Linked DNA regions of Homo sapiens: region 2 is linked to region 1. Evidence: promoter capture Hi-C in 16 types of primary human blood cells and fetal thymus (Javierre and others, 2016). All regions are on one chromosome and are shown on one strand. The core of a region is centred on a gene start or on the middle of the fragment in contact, and the rest is flanking DNA. Distances in the headings are between cores, read along the strand shown. Region 1 holds the start of CAPN12 (calpain 12). Region 2 overlaps RYR1 (ryanodine receptor 1).

Region 1 (5,592 bases), core at 55-2,554:
AGGGCCTCCAAGCCCATGAAAGGCCTGGAAGCCTGTGGGCAGGAGCATGGCTTCCCTGGGTCTCCAGAAGTTGTGCTGAGCCAGTCCCATGGTAGCCCCCTCCTCCCTCAGACCCGGGAGTCCAGGCCCAGCCCCTCCTCCCTCAGACCCAGGAGTCCATGTCCCGAGCCCCTCCTCCCTCAGACCCAGGAGTCCAGGCCCAGCCCCTCCTCCCTCAGACCCAGGAGTCCAGGTCCCGAGCCCCTCCTCCCTCAGACCCAGGAGTCCAGGCCCAGCCCCTCCTCCCTCAGACCCAGGAGTCCAGGTCCCGAGCCCCTCCTCCCTCAGACCCAAGAATCCAGGTCCCCAGCCCCTCCTCCCTCAGACCCAGGAGTCCAGGTCCAGCCCCTCCTCCCTCAGACCCCGGAGTCCAGGTCCCCAGCCCCCTCTTCCCTCAGACCCAGGTGTCCAGGCCTTGGCCTCTCCTCCCTCAGATCCAGAAGTCCAGGTCCAAGCCCCCTCCTCCCTCAGACCCAGGAGTCCAGGTCCCCAGCCCCTCCTCCCTCAGACCCAAGAGTCCAGGCCCAGCCCTTCCTCCCTCAGACCCAGGAGTCCAGGCCCAGCCCCTCCTCCCTCAGACCTAAGAGTCCAGGTCTCGAGCCCCTCCTCCCTCAGACCAGGGAGTCCAGGCCCCCAGCCTTCCTTCCTCAGACCCAGGAGTCCATGCCTCCAGCCCCTCCTCCCTCAGACCCCAGAGCCCAGACCCCAGCCACACTTTACATGGGGCCTCATCCATTTCACGCCTTTGGCCTTCTCCGAGTCCGGCCCCAGCTGGTCATAGCCAAGGGCATCAGGGCCAGCAGGGAAGTAAGGGTCGCGGAACAGGATCCCCGAATCCAGGCAGGCTGCCCGAATTGCCTCATAGCTCTGGCCCCGAAAAAGCTGCAGGCGCCCGGCTCCGACCCCAGCCTCCTCATCCACGAGCTGGATGGTGACCCTCCCACTGCTGGATGCCATCTGGACACTGGCCTCACAAGCCGGCACCAGGCCCTTTAACCTCCTGAGTCACGGGGGCGGGGCCTCTCTTCCATTGGAGCCCCAGTGGGGTCTTTAGGCAATGAGGAGCCTTCCCTCGTTAATATTAATTGATGGTTTGGGGTGCTGGGGAGCAGGGACGCCTCTTCAGTAGCTTTCTTCCCAGGGCGTGGGGCCTTCAGTTGTGGCCAAGGTAGCAGCTTAATGGGCTTGGCCAGCAGCAGGAGAGAAGGCGGGCAGAGCTGAGGGAGGACCGGCTGCCGCTGTCAGAGCACCAAGAAGGAGGTCAGTGTGGGGGTGAGCTTCTGCCTACTTATGCCTGTGGGGCTGGGGAAGGAGGCGGGTTTACCTCGGTGTCTCTATCTCTCAGACTGCCTCTCTCCCCCTCCCTCTGACAGTTTCTCTCTCCCCGCCTTCATGTTTCTTCTCCATCAGTTTCTGGAGTGCAGTGGCACGATCTCAGCTCACTGCAACCTCCGCCTTCTAGGTTCAAGTGATTCTCCTGCCTCAGCCTCCCAAGTAGCTGGGATTACAGGCTCGTGTCACCATGCCCAGCTAATTTTTGTATTTTTTGTTAGAGAAGGGATTTTACCATGTTGACCAGGCTGGTCTTGAACTCCTGGCCTCAAGCAATCCGCCCACCTTGGCCTCCCAAAGTGCTGGGATTACAGACGTGAGCCACTGTGCCTGGTCAGGTTTTGTTAATTAAAAAAAATTTTTTTTAAAGTAGAGACAGAGGGGTGGCGGGGGGCGGTCCCATATGTTCCCCAGGCTGGTCTTGAACTGCTGGCCTCAAGTGATCCTCCTGCTTCAGCAGCCTCCCAGAGAGCTGGGATTACAGATGTGAGCTACTGTGCCTGGCCCTTTCTTGTTTTTTGTTTCTGGCAATATTTGTGTCTCTGTATTTCCCCAACTCCACCCCTCTCCCCACCCCACCCTCTTTTTTTTTTTTTTTTTTTTTTTGTAGAGATGGGGCGGGGATCTCACTTTGTTGCCCAGACTGGTCTCGAACTCCTGGGCTCAAGTGATCCTCCCCGCTTGGCCTCCCAAAGTGTTGGGATTACAGGCGTGAATCACTATGCCTGTCCCCTCTCTCTTTGTGTCTCTTTCAGCGTGTGTCTGTTCCTCTCTGTACCTGTCAGACCCAGGAGTCCAGGCCCCCAGCCCCTCCTCCTTCAGACCCTGTCAGTGTACCTTGTGTCTGCCTCCCTGTCTCTTCCTCTCCATCTTTCTGTCTGTCCCTGTAACCCATATGTGGCTCCTCCATCATCCACCGAGGGACCCTGAGCTCCCCTCCGCTCACGCCCCCTAAGCCCTCAGGATGCGCCTCCTCCCCTCCCGGACAAGGTAGACTCAGCCTGCTTGCCCAGGGAGGCTGACCCTGGAGGGATGGCTCTGTACCTCTCCTGTGCTGGGAGCCATCTGGTGACCATGATGCCCTGCCCTGGCCCACGCCACTCAGAGTCTGGATGGAGCAGTATTTCCCCCAAAGGACTCTGGAGCCATTGGAGGAAATGGGAGAAACAGGTACGGAGATGCCAGAGCCTCAGCAGTGCTGGTCCCAGCAGACCTTCCACCCTCGTTGAGGGTGTCTGCTGCCCTCCCAGAGCCTTGTCACCTCCACGCCACTCAGATGTCCCTCAAGCCTTTTGGCCTTCTTCCCTCCAAGTGGACCCACAAATATTGTCCAAGCCACCCACGTACACGGCTACCAAAAGTGGGTTACAAAACAGGCTTTCTGGCTGGGCGTGGTGGCTCATGCCTGTAATCCCAGCACTTTGGGAGGCCGAGGCAGGCAGATCACCTGAGGTCAGGAGTTCGAGACCAGCCAGGCCAATGTAGTGAAACTCCGTCTCTACTAAAATACAAAAATTAGCCGGACATAGTTGCGGGCACCTGTAATCCCAGCTACTCAGAAGGCTGAGGCAGGAGAACCGCTTGAATCTGGGAGGCGGAGGTTGCAGTGAGCCGAGATTGTGCCACTGCACTCCAGCCTGGGCAACAGGGCAAGACTGCATCTCAAAAAACCCCCCAAAACAGGGCCGGGCATGGTGGCTCATGCCCGTAATCCCAGCACTTTGGGAGGCTGAGGTGGGCAGAACACTTGAGGCCAGGAGTTCAAGACCAGCCTGGCCAACATGGTGAAACACCATCTCTATTAAAAATACAAAAATTAGGCTGGACGCGGTAGTTTACTACGCCTGTAATCCCAGCACTTTGGGAGGCCGAGACGGGCGGGTCAGGAGTTCCAGACCAGCCTGGCCAACATGGTGAAACCCCATCTCTACTAAAAAATACAAAAAAATTAGCTGGGTGTGGTGGCACGCACCTGTAATCCCAGCTACTCAGGAGGCTGAGGTAGGAGAATCGCTTGAACCCGAGAGGTGGAGGTTTCAGTGAGCCAAGACTGCACCACTGCACTCCAGCCTCGGCAAGAGAGCAAAACTCCATCTCAAAAAAAAAAAAAAAAAGGCCGGGCACGGTGGCTCAAGCCTGTAATCCCAGCAGCACTTTGGGAGGCCAAAGCAGGCAGATCACGAGGTCAGGAGATCAAGACCATCCTGGCTAACACGGTGAAACCCCATCTCTACTACAAAAAATACAAAAAATTAGCCAGGCATGGTGGCGGCCACCTGTAGTCCCAGCTACTCGGGAGGCTGAGGCAGGAGAATGACGTGGACCCAGGAGGCGAAGCTTGCAGTGAGCCGCCACTGCACTCCAGCCTGGTTGACAGAGCAAGACTCTGTCTCAAAAAAAAAAAAAAAAAAAAAAATTAGCTGGGCATGGTGGTACACACCTGTAATCCCAGCTACTCAGGAGGGTGAGGCAGGAGAATCGCTTGAACCTGGGAGGCGGAGGTTGCAGTGAGCCAAGATCACGCCACTGCACTCCAGCCTGGGTGAGAGAGTGAGACTCCATCTCAAAAAAAAAAAAAAAAAAGTTTTCTTCGTGTAGGATTGCCAAGCCCACCCCAGCCCCACGGGAGTCATATGGGAGTGCTTCCAGCCTGCCGGGATTAGGAGCCACAGCACCTGGGGTCCAATCCCAGCTCTGCCACCTACACCTGTGTGTCTTTGGGCACATCACTTAACTTCTCTGTGCTTCAGTTTCCTCATCTCTGCAATGCGGATGATGATAGGGCGTACCTCGGAGGGTTGCTGTGGGAAGCGAATGAGTTCGTACGTGGGATGAGTTCAGAGAAGTGCCTGACACAGAGTCGCTGCTCACTGCACGAGGCATTGACCATGCCTTGGCGTTCAAGAGTGTCTGCTGCCCTCCCAGAGCCTTGTCACCTCCATGCCACTCAGATGTCCCTCAAGCCTTCTGGCCTCCTTCCCTCCAAGTGGACCCACAGATATTGTCCAAGCTGCCTACGTACATGGCTACCAAAAGTGGGTTACAAAACGAGCTTTCTGGCTGGGCGTGGTGGGTCACGCCTGTAATCCCAGCACTTTGGGAGGCCGAGGTGGGCGGCCTCGGCCATCCACAGTCAACCTGTCTCCTTGGATCTGGGCTGCTGTTTCTTTCACTTGTTTGTTGGTTTATTTTTTGGGACAGTCTCGCCTCGTCACCCAGGCTGGAGTGCAGTGGCGTGATCTTGGCTCACTACAACCTCCGCCTCCCAGGTTCAAGTGATTCTCCTGCCTCAGCCTCCCGAGTAGCTAGAATTACAGGCATGTGCCACCACGGCTGGCTAATTTTTGTATTTTTAGTAGAGACAGGGTTTCACCATATTGGTCAGGCTGGTCTTGAAAGCCTCACTTCAGGTGATCCACCCGCCTTGGCCTCCAAAAGTGCTGGGATTACAGACAGGAGCCACCGCGCCATGTCTTACTGTTTCTTTTTTTGTATTGTTTTGTTTTGTTTCTGAGACAGGGTCTGACTCTGTTGCCCAGGCTGGAGTGCAGTGGCACAATCTTGGCTCACTGCAGCCTTGACCTCCCGGGCTCAAGCAATCCTCCTGCCTCAGCTTCCTGAGTAGCTGGGACCACAGGCTTGTGCCACCATACCCAGCAAATTTTTAGACTTTTTGGTGGAATGGAGTCTCACTTTGTTGCCAGGGCTGGTCTTGAATCCCTGAGCTCAAGCAAACTTCCCATGTCAGCTTCCCAAAGTGCTAGGATTATAGGCCTGACCCACTGCACCTGGCCAGATGTACAACTTTCAAACCACTGAAGTAGCTTAAAATGAAAGGAAAAGAAAATGTAATCTATTTGGCAATGGTCGAAAAGCAAAGGAAAATGCAGCGAATCATAGAAAATAAAAGCAAAAAGCATCACACAATGACCTAAATAAAACCAAGCATATCAGTTATAACAACATTATGCAAATGTGTGAAACGTACTTGGGAACATCAACAAACAAAATTCAACTGTTTAGCTTTCAAAACACTTTCCAAAGATAACACCACCAAGTTTTAAAATAAAAGGATTAGAAATAGCTATCAGTCAAAAGCAGATACACAAAAATCAGGGCAAATCTGATATTAGAGAAAACCGGATTTAAAGCAGATAGCATTACTTTGGACAAAAGGAGTTATTTTCTATTGATAAAGTGTATGATCCAGAATGAAAAGTG
Region 2 (5,762 bases), core at 527-3,026, 290 kb before region 1:
GACTGGGAGAGAAACTGAGACTGAGAGAAACAGCAAAAAAGACAAAGGGATATATCTACATGGAGAGAGAGAGAGAGCAGAAATCTGTAGACAGACAGGGAAAGGCAGAGATAAAGAGGCATGGAAACAGAGAAATAGAGAAAGATAGAGACAGAGAAACAGAGACACGGCCGGGCGTGGTGGCTCATGCCTGTAATCCTAGCACTTTGGGAGGCCCAGGCGGTTGGATCACCTGAGGTCAGGAGTTTGAGACCAGCCTGGCCAACATGGTGAAACCCTGTCTCTACTAAAAATACAAAAATTAGCCAGGCGTGGTGGCAGCTGCCTGTAATCCCAGCTACTCAGGAGGCTGAGGCAGGAGAATTGCTTGAACCTGGGAAGTGGAGGTTGGGAGTGAGCCAATATCGTGCCATTGCACTCCAGCCTGGCTGACAAGAGTGAAACTCCGTCTCAGAAAAACAAAAACAAAACAAAACAAAAACAAAAACAGAGAGAGTGAGAAAAAGATGGATAATGACCAACTGAGAATAACTTTCAACAAACAATTACTGAGTACCCGCGTTGTTCTGGTTGTGTGTGCAGAAAATAGATGAGCTGTAGCGACCTGTTCCCTGCCCTCCCAGTGCTCAGAAATTGTGAACAAACTGCCTTTAGTGAAGTACATAGTTTTACAATTAAGGAGTGGGAAAACTATTTTTGGCAGCAGGAACAGCATGTGCAAAGGTCCTGAGGTTAACATGAGCTTGGCTTGTTGCAGTAGCAGAAAGAAGCCACAGTGTGGAACAGGGTGAGCAGGCTGGAGTAGTGGTTGGTGAGGAAAGAGAGGGGATGGGAACAGCTCGTGTGAGGCCTTGTGGGCCATGGGAGAGGTCTAGTTTTGTTTGTTTGTTTGTTTTTTGTAGAGACGAGGTCTCATTATATTACACAGGCTGGTCTCAAACTCCTGGGGCTCAAGTGATCCTCCTGCCTCAGCCTCCCAAAGTGCTGAGATTAAAGTGAAGTGTGAGCCACTGCTCCTGGCCAGGTTCTAGTTTTTATCCTGAGTGAGATGGGCTCACAGGAGATTTTGAGCAGGGCAGGGAAGTGACCTGACGCAGGATCACAGAATTCTTAGGCTGTCTCTGGGAACAGACTACGGTCAGGGGACAGAGCCAGAGCAGGGAGACCAGAGAAGAGACTGCCATGATGTTACAAATGGGAGATGACAGTGGACAGGACCAGGAGGGGACTGTGGAGTTGGGAAGAGTAGTAGATTCTGGTGGGGTCCTGAGGGTAGAGCCAACAGGATTTGCTGACAGATTGGCTGTGGGGTGAGAGAAGGGGAGGGGTTGAGGATGATGCCATGATTTTTTGCCCCAAGCAACTGGAAGGATGGAAGTGCTGAAACAGCCTCATTGTCTGGAGTATCACCCAAGGTTTGTGGTCTCACAGCCACAGAGAACAAGGACGCAGACACACAAAGAGTGAGGTTAAGAGGGGACATTTAATAGGCGAAAGAAGGAGCTCTCTACTGCAGAGAAGGGTCCCAGAAAAATGGGTTGAAATGCAGGGGGTTCCATGGTGAAATGCAGGGGGCTTTACAGATGAGCTGGTGGGGAGGTGGTATCTGATTTACCTAGGGTGCAAAAGACTGGTTGGACCAGTTGTGCCATTTGCATAGGGCACAAATTTCTGGCTGCCTCCACCCTAAGCTTTTATTGTACAAGCGGGTCCTCTGCCTGAGCTGGCCATGTTGCCCATTCCTTTTCTGTACAACGTGGAAACAATAAATAAATAAATAACTAAATAAAGGGAAGATGGAGCCTCCATGTTGGACATGCGTAGCCCCAGGTATACCTTTTCTATCGGCACATTCCCCCATGCAAGCTTGTAGCTCGATTTTCCAGGCTGCTCTTTGTTAGAAAAGAAATTATTTTGGGGGCTGCTTTCCGTTAGAAAGGAAACTCTGCCGAGGACTCTGTTGCCCTTACTCTCTGCCTAAATAATTTTTTTCTACCTCTTGTATCAGTGCCATCAACCAAGTTAGGGGACAGTCAGTGTTGGCTCAGAAGGACAGGGATCTTAGGCTTTACTGCCAGTGCCTAGAACAGAGCCACTTACTACAGCCTTGCTGAATGGACAAGTAGGAATCCTTGGGGAGGCACTCGTTTGCAAAAACAGGCCTGTAGTTGAATACATGAGCCAAGGGCGTAGAGACGGGGCCTGGGCCATGTCCAAAGTGGGGACACGTGAGCATCATCAGCAGGTGGATGGTGTTTACAGCCGCAGACTGGATGAGTTCTGGGGAGGTCGGCTTGGGGTGAAGCTGGCAGCCATGATGGTCTCACCTCGTGGAAAGGTGGTCTGGCATTCTATCTGGGACAGGTTCAATTTGGGGGTTAGAGCTTTCTGGTCGGGGGGAATGTTAAGTCAGCAGTAGGTACAGGTGGAAAGGGTCTGGCCTGGAGACAGAGACAGGAAGGAGATAGGGATAGAGAGATAGAGAGGGAGAGGCAGGGACAGAGGTGAGAGAGATAGAGAGACAAAGACAGACAAAACCAAAAACAGGGACAGAGAGAGACAGAGAGGAGAGAGAGAATCAAAGACACAGAGGAGACAGATGACGGGGGACAGAAAAATGAGGAGGAATTTGCAGTGAGATTCTGCAGAGCAGGGAGGAGGGGGCAAGTGCAGAACTCAAGTCTAGACAGACGTCTTGGGGGCATGGCCCTGGGTGGCTGGGCCCACTCCAGACCTCTGTCTCCCCACTCCTAGGCCATGCTGCACCAGGAGGGCCACATGGACGACGCACTGTCGCTGACCCGCTGCCAGCAGGAGGAGTCCCAGGCCGCCCGCATGATCCACAGCACCAATGGCCTATACAACCAGTTCATCAAGTGAGCAACCTGCCCTCCCTGCTGGGGTGACTCCTGTGCTGTCCCATGCTCCGGGCATCCATACACTTGGCCTCTTTCATCTCTACCTCTGTTGCCCACACCCTTGTCTAACATATACATGGGCCAAGCGCAGTGGCTCACACCTGTAATCCCAAGACTTTGGGAGGGCAAGGCATGAGGATCGCTTGGGCCCAGGAGCTTGAGACCAGCCTGGGCAGCATAGGGAGACCCCGCCTCTACCAAAAAAAAAAAAAAAAAAAAAAAAATTAGGCTGGGCACAGTGGCTCATGCCTGTAATCCTAGCACTTTGAGAGGCTGAGGCGGGCAGATCGCTTGAGCCCAGGAGTTCGAGACCAGCCTGAGCAATATAGTGAAACCCTGTCTCTATAAAAAAAATAACAAAATATTGGCCAGGTGTGGTGGCACGTGCCTGTAGTCCCAGCTGCATGGGAAGCTGAGGAAGGAGGATTGCTTGAGCCGAGGGGGCAGAGGCTGCAGTGAGCCACTATACTCCAGCTTCACTGACAGAGCGAGACCCTTCTCAAAAAATAATAACAATAATATACACATGACCCCTAACCTCTAAACTCCTGACCTCTGTACACTTGACCCCTAATCTGACCTTGACAACCATGATCACATTCCTGATCATCACCCAACTTTCACACCCCTGACACCCAGAGCCTGGACCCTGGACCTCTCCATCCCTGAGTTCCGGGACCCCCCTGTACCTACACAGGAGCGAGTCCCAGTCCCAGCTCTGCCCTTGGCCATTGTGTGACCTCGGACAAATGCTTTTCCCTCTCTGCGTCTCGGTCTCCCTCTCTGTAAAACGGGTGGGTCTGGGGGAGTCTTGCGGGAGTGAGGTTGCGGCAGTGACGTTGCGGCAGTTAGCGCTCCCAGCCGTGGCTGACAGCTGCGAGGTCCCTGTAGGAGCCTGGACAGCTTCAGCGGGAAGCCACGGGGCTCGGGGCCACCCGCTGGCACGGCGCTGCCCATCGAGGGCGTTATCCTGAGCCTGCAGGACCTCATCATCTACTTCGAGCCTCCCTCCGAGGACTTGCAGCACGAGGAGAAGCAGAGCAAGCTGCGAAGCCTGCGCAACCGCCAGAGCCTCTTCCAGGAGGAGGTGAGGACGTGGCGAGGGCGGAGCGGGGCCTGTGGGCCCAGGGGGCGGGACCACTGAGGGGCGGGGCCACGGCGCTGGGCGGGGCAGGGCCTGAGGGACCTGGGGAAGTAGGGTCTGAGAAGGGGGCGGGGCAGGAGAAGGAGCCGGACAGGAACCCCAGCCAGTGAGAACACGATGGGGCGGGGCCTTGGGAGGGGCGGGCCTGCTGTGCTGGTGGGCAGGACCTTTGGGAAGGGGCAGGGCGTATGGCCGACCAGGGGGCGGGGCCTGGAGAGAAGGATGGAATAAAAGAGCTGAGGGGCGGGGCCTATGTGAAGCTCAGGTATAGGGTGAGGCCTGGGGAGGTGAGGCCAGGAGTGGGGCCAGAGGTCAGAGGTAGGGCTGCCGACTCAGCGGGCGGGGTCTGCTGGCGCGGGGTCTGTGGGGTGGGCGGACAGAATCAGTGTGGGGTATGGGAGGTGCCGAGGCAGAAATAGATCTTTGGGCATTAGGGAGGGGAGGCCAGCTGTGAACAAAACAGAAAAAAATCTCTGTCCTTATGGAGTTGACATGGCGGGGAGAGACAGGAGATCAATAAAATAAATAAGTAAATTGTATGGCATATTAGATGGTAATAACTGTTAAAGAGAAAAATTCAGCAGGTAAGGGGTAGGGAGTGTTGGGGTTTTGCAGTTTAAGACAGAGCTGTCAGACAGGGTGACCTGGAGGAAGAGAGGAAGCCATGTGCAAAGGCCATGAGGTGGGCGGGTGTTTGGCATGTTCCAGAAACAGTCAGGTGGTGATTGGAGCAGGGAGGCTTGGGTGGGGGAGTGGGAGGAAATGAGGGCAGAGAGGTGACGAGGGCCAGGCCTTGGTGAGGACTTTGGCTTTGGGAGCCACAGGAGGTTTTGGTCCTCTACAGTCACAGCTAGTTAGTGGCAGAGCCGGTCAGTGTGATGCCACTTTGGTTGTGCTCTCCACTTTGAGGCACTGCTCCTCTCACTACTGATCTAGGCCCCAGGATGCAGATACAACAATTGTTTTGTTTTGTCTTGTTTTTTGAAACAGAGTCTCTCTCTGTCACCCAGGCTGGAGTGCAGTGGTGTGATCTTGGCTCACTGCAACCTCCACCTCCCAGGTTCAAATGATTCTCCTGCCTCCTCAGCCTCCCAAGTAGCTGAAACTACAGGTGTGAGCCACCACGCCTGGCTAATTTTTGTATTTTTAGTAGAGATGGGGTTTCGCCATGTTGGCCAGGCTCGTCTCAAACTCCTGACCTCAGGTGATCCACCCGCCTCCACCTCCCAAAGAGCTGGGATTACAGGCGTGAGCCACTGCACCCAGACAGTTTTGTCCTTTTTGTTGATTTCACTGTTTATAATGTCTCCCAAGTGTAGTGCTGAAGTGCTGTCTAGCTTTCCTAAGTGCAAGAAAGCTATGATGTGCCTTACTGAGAAAATATGTGTTAGATAAGCTTAATTAAGGCATGAGTTATAGTACTGTTGGCTGTGAATTTAATGTTAATGACTCAACAATATATATTAAATAACTGTCTTTAAACAGAAACATAAAAAACAAGGTTATGTAATAAGTGGTTGATGAAAATACTGTCACAGACTCTCAGGGACTCCCTGTATTTCCCCTAGAAGCAGTGGTTCAGTATTTGATAATTCAGTCTTCATAATCACTTTATAGAACATAACTATGAATAATGAGAATTGATTGTATATGTTTTATGTACTTTTCTGTATGTATATTATGATTCACAATGAAATAAG

What was found. The method cuts DNA at HindIII sites, captures the fragments that hold promoters and counts their contacts. A CHiCAGO score of 5 or more calls a contact.
Region 2: a contact is called between a fragment that was not itself captured here and the fragment with the promoter of CAPN12 in region 1, in 1 of 17 cell types (non-activated CD4 T cells). The highest score is 6.4, in non-activated CD4 T cells.

Annotation. Positions count from the first base shown.
Region 1 is chr19:38,743,170-38,748,761 of GRCh38, forward strand. CAPN12 (calpain 12) reads right to left here and starts at 1,305. Exons shown (of 21, transcript NM_144691.4): 1 at 760-1,305. The coding sequence starts at 996. The HindIII fragment of the contact is 36,048 bases long and covers 1-3,706 here.
Region 2 is chr19:38,449,010-38,454,771 of GRCh38, forward strand. It overlaps RYR1 (ryanodine receptor 1), which reads left to right. Exons shown (of 106, transcript NM_000540.3): 12 at 2,755-2,876; 13 at 3,810-4,005. Among named protein-coding and RNA genes, the nearest start is that of RYR1, 18 kb to the left of the region's middle. RefSeq lists an enhancer at 3,778-4,305. The HindIII fragment of the contact is 175 bases long and covers 1,690-1,864 here.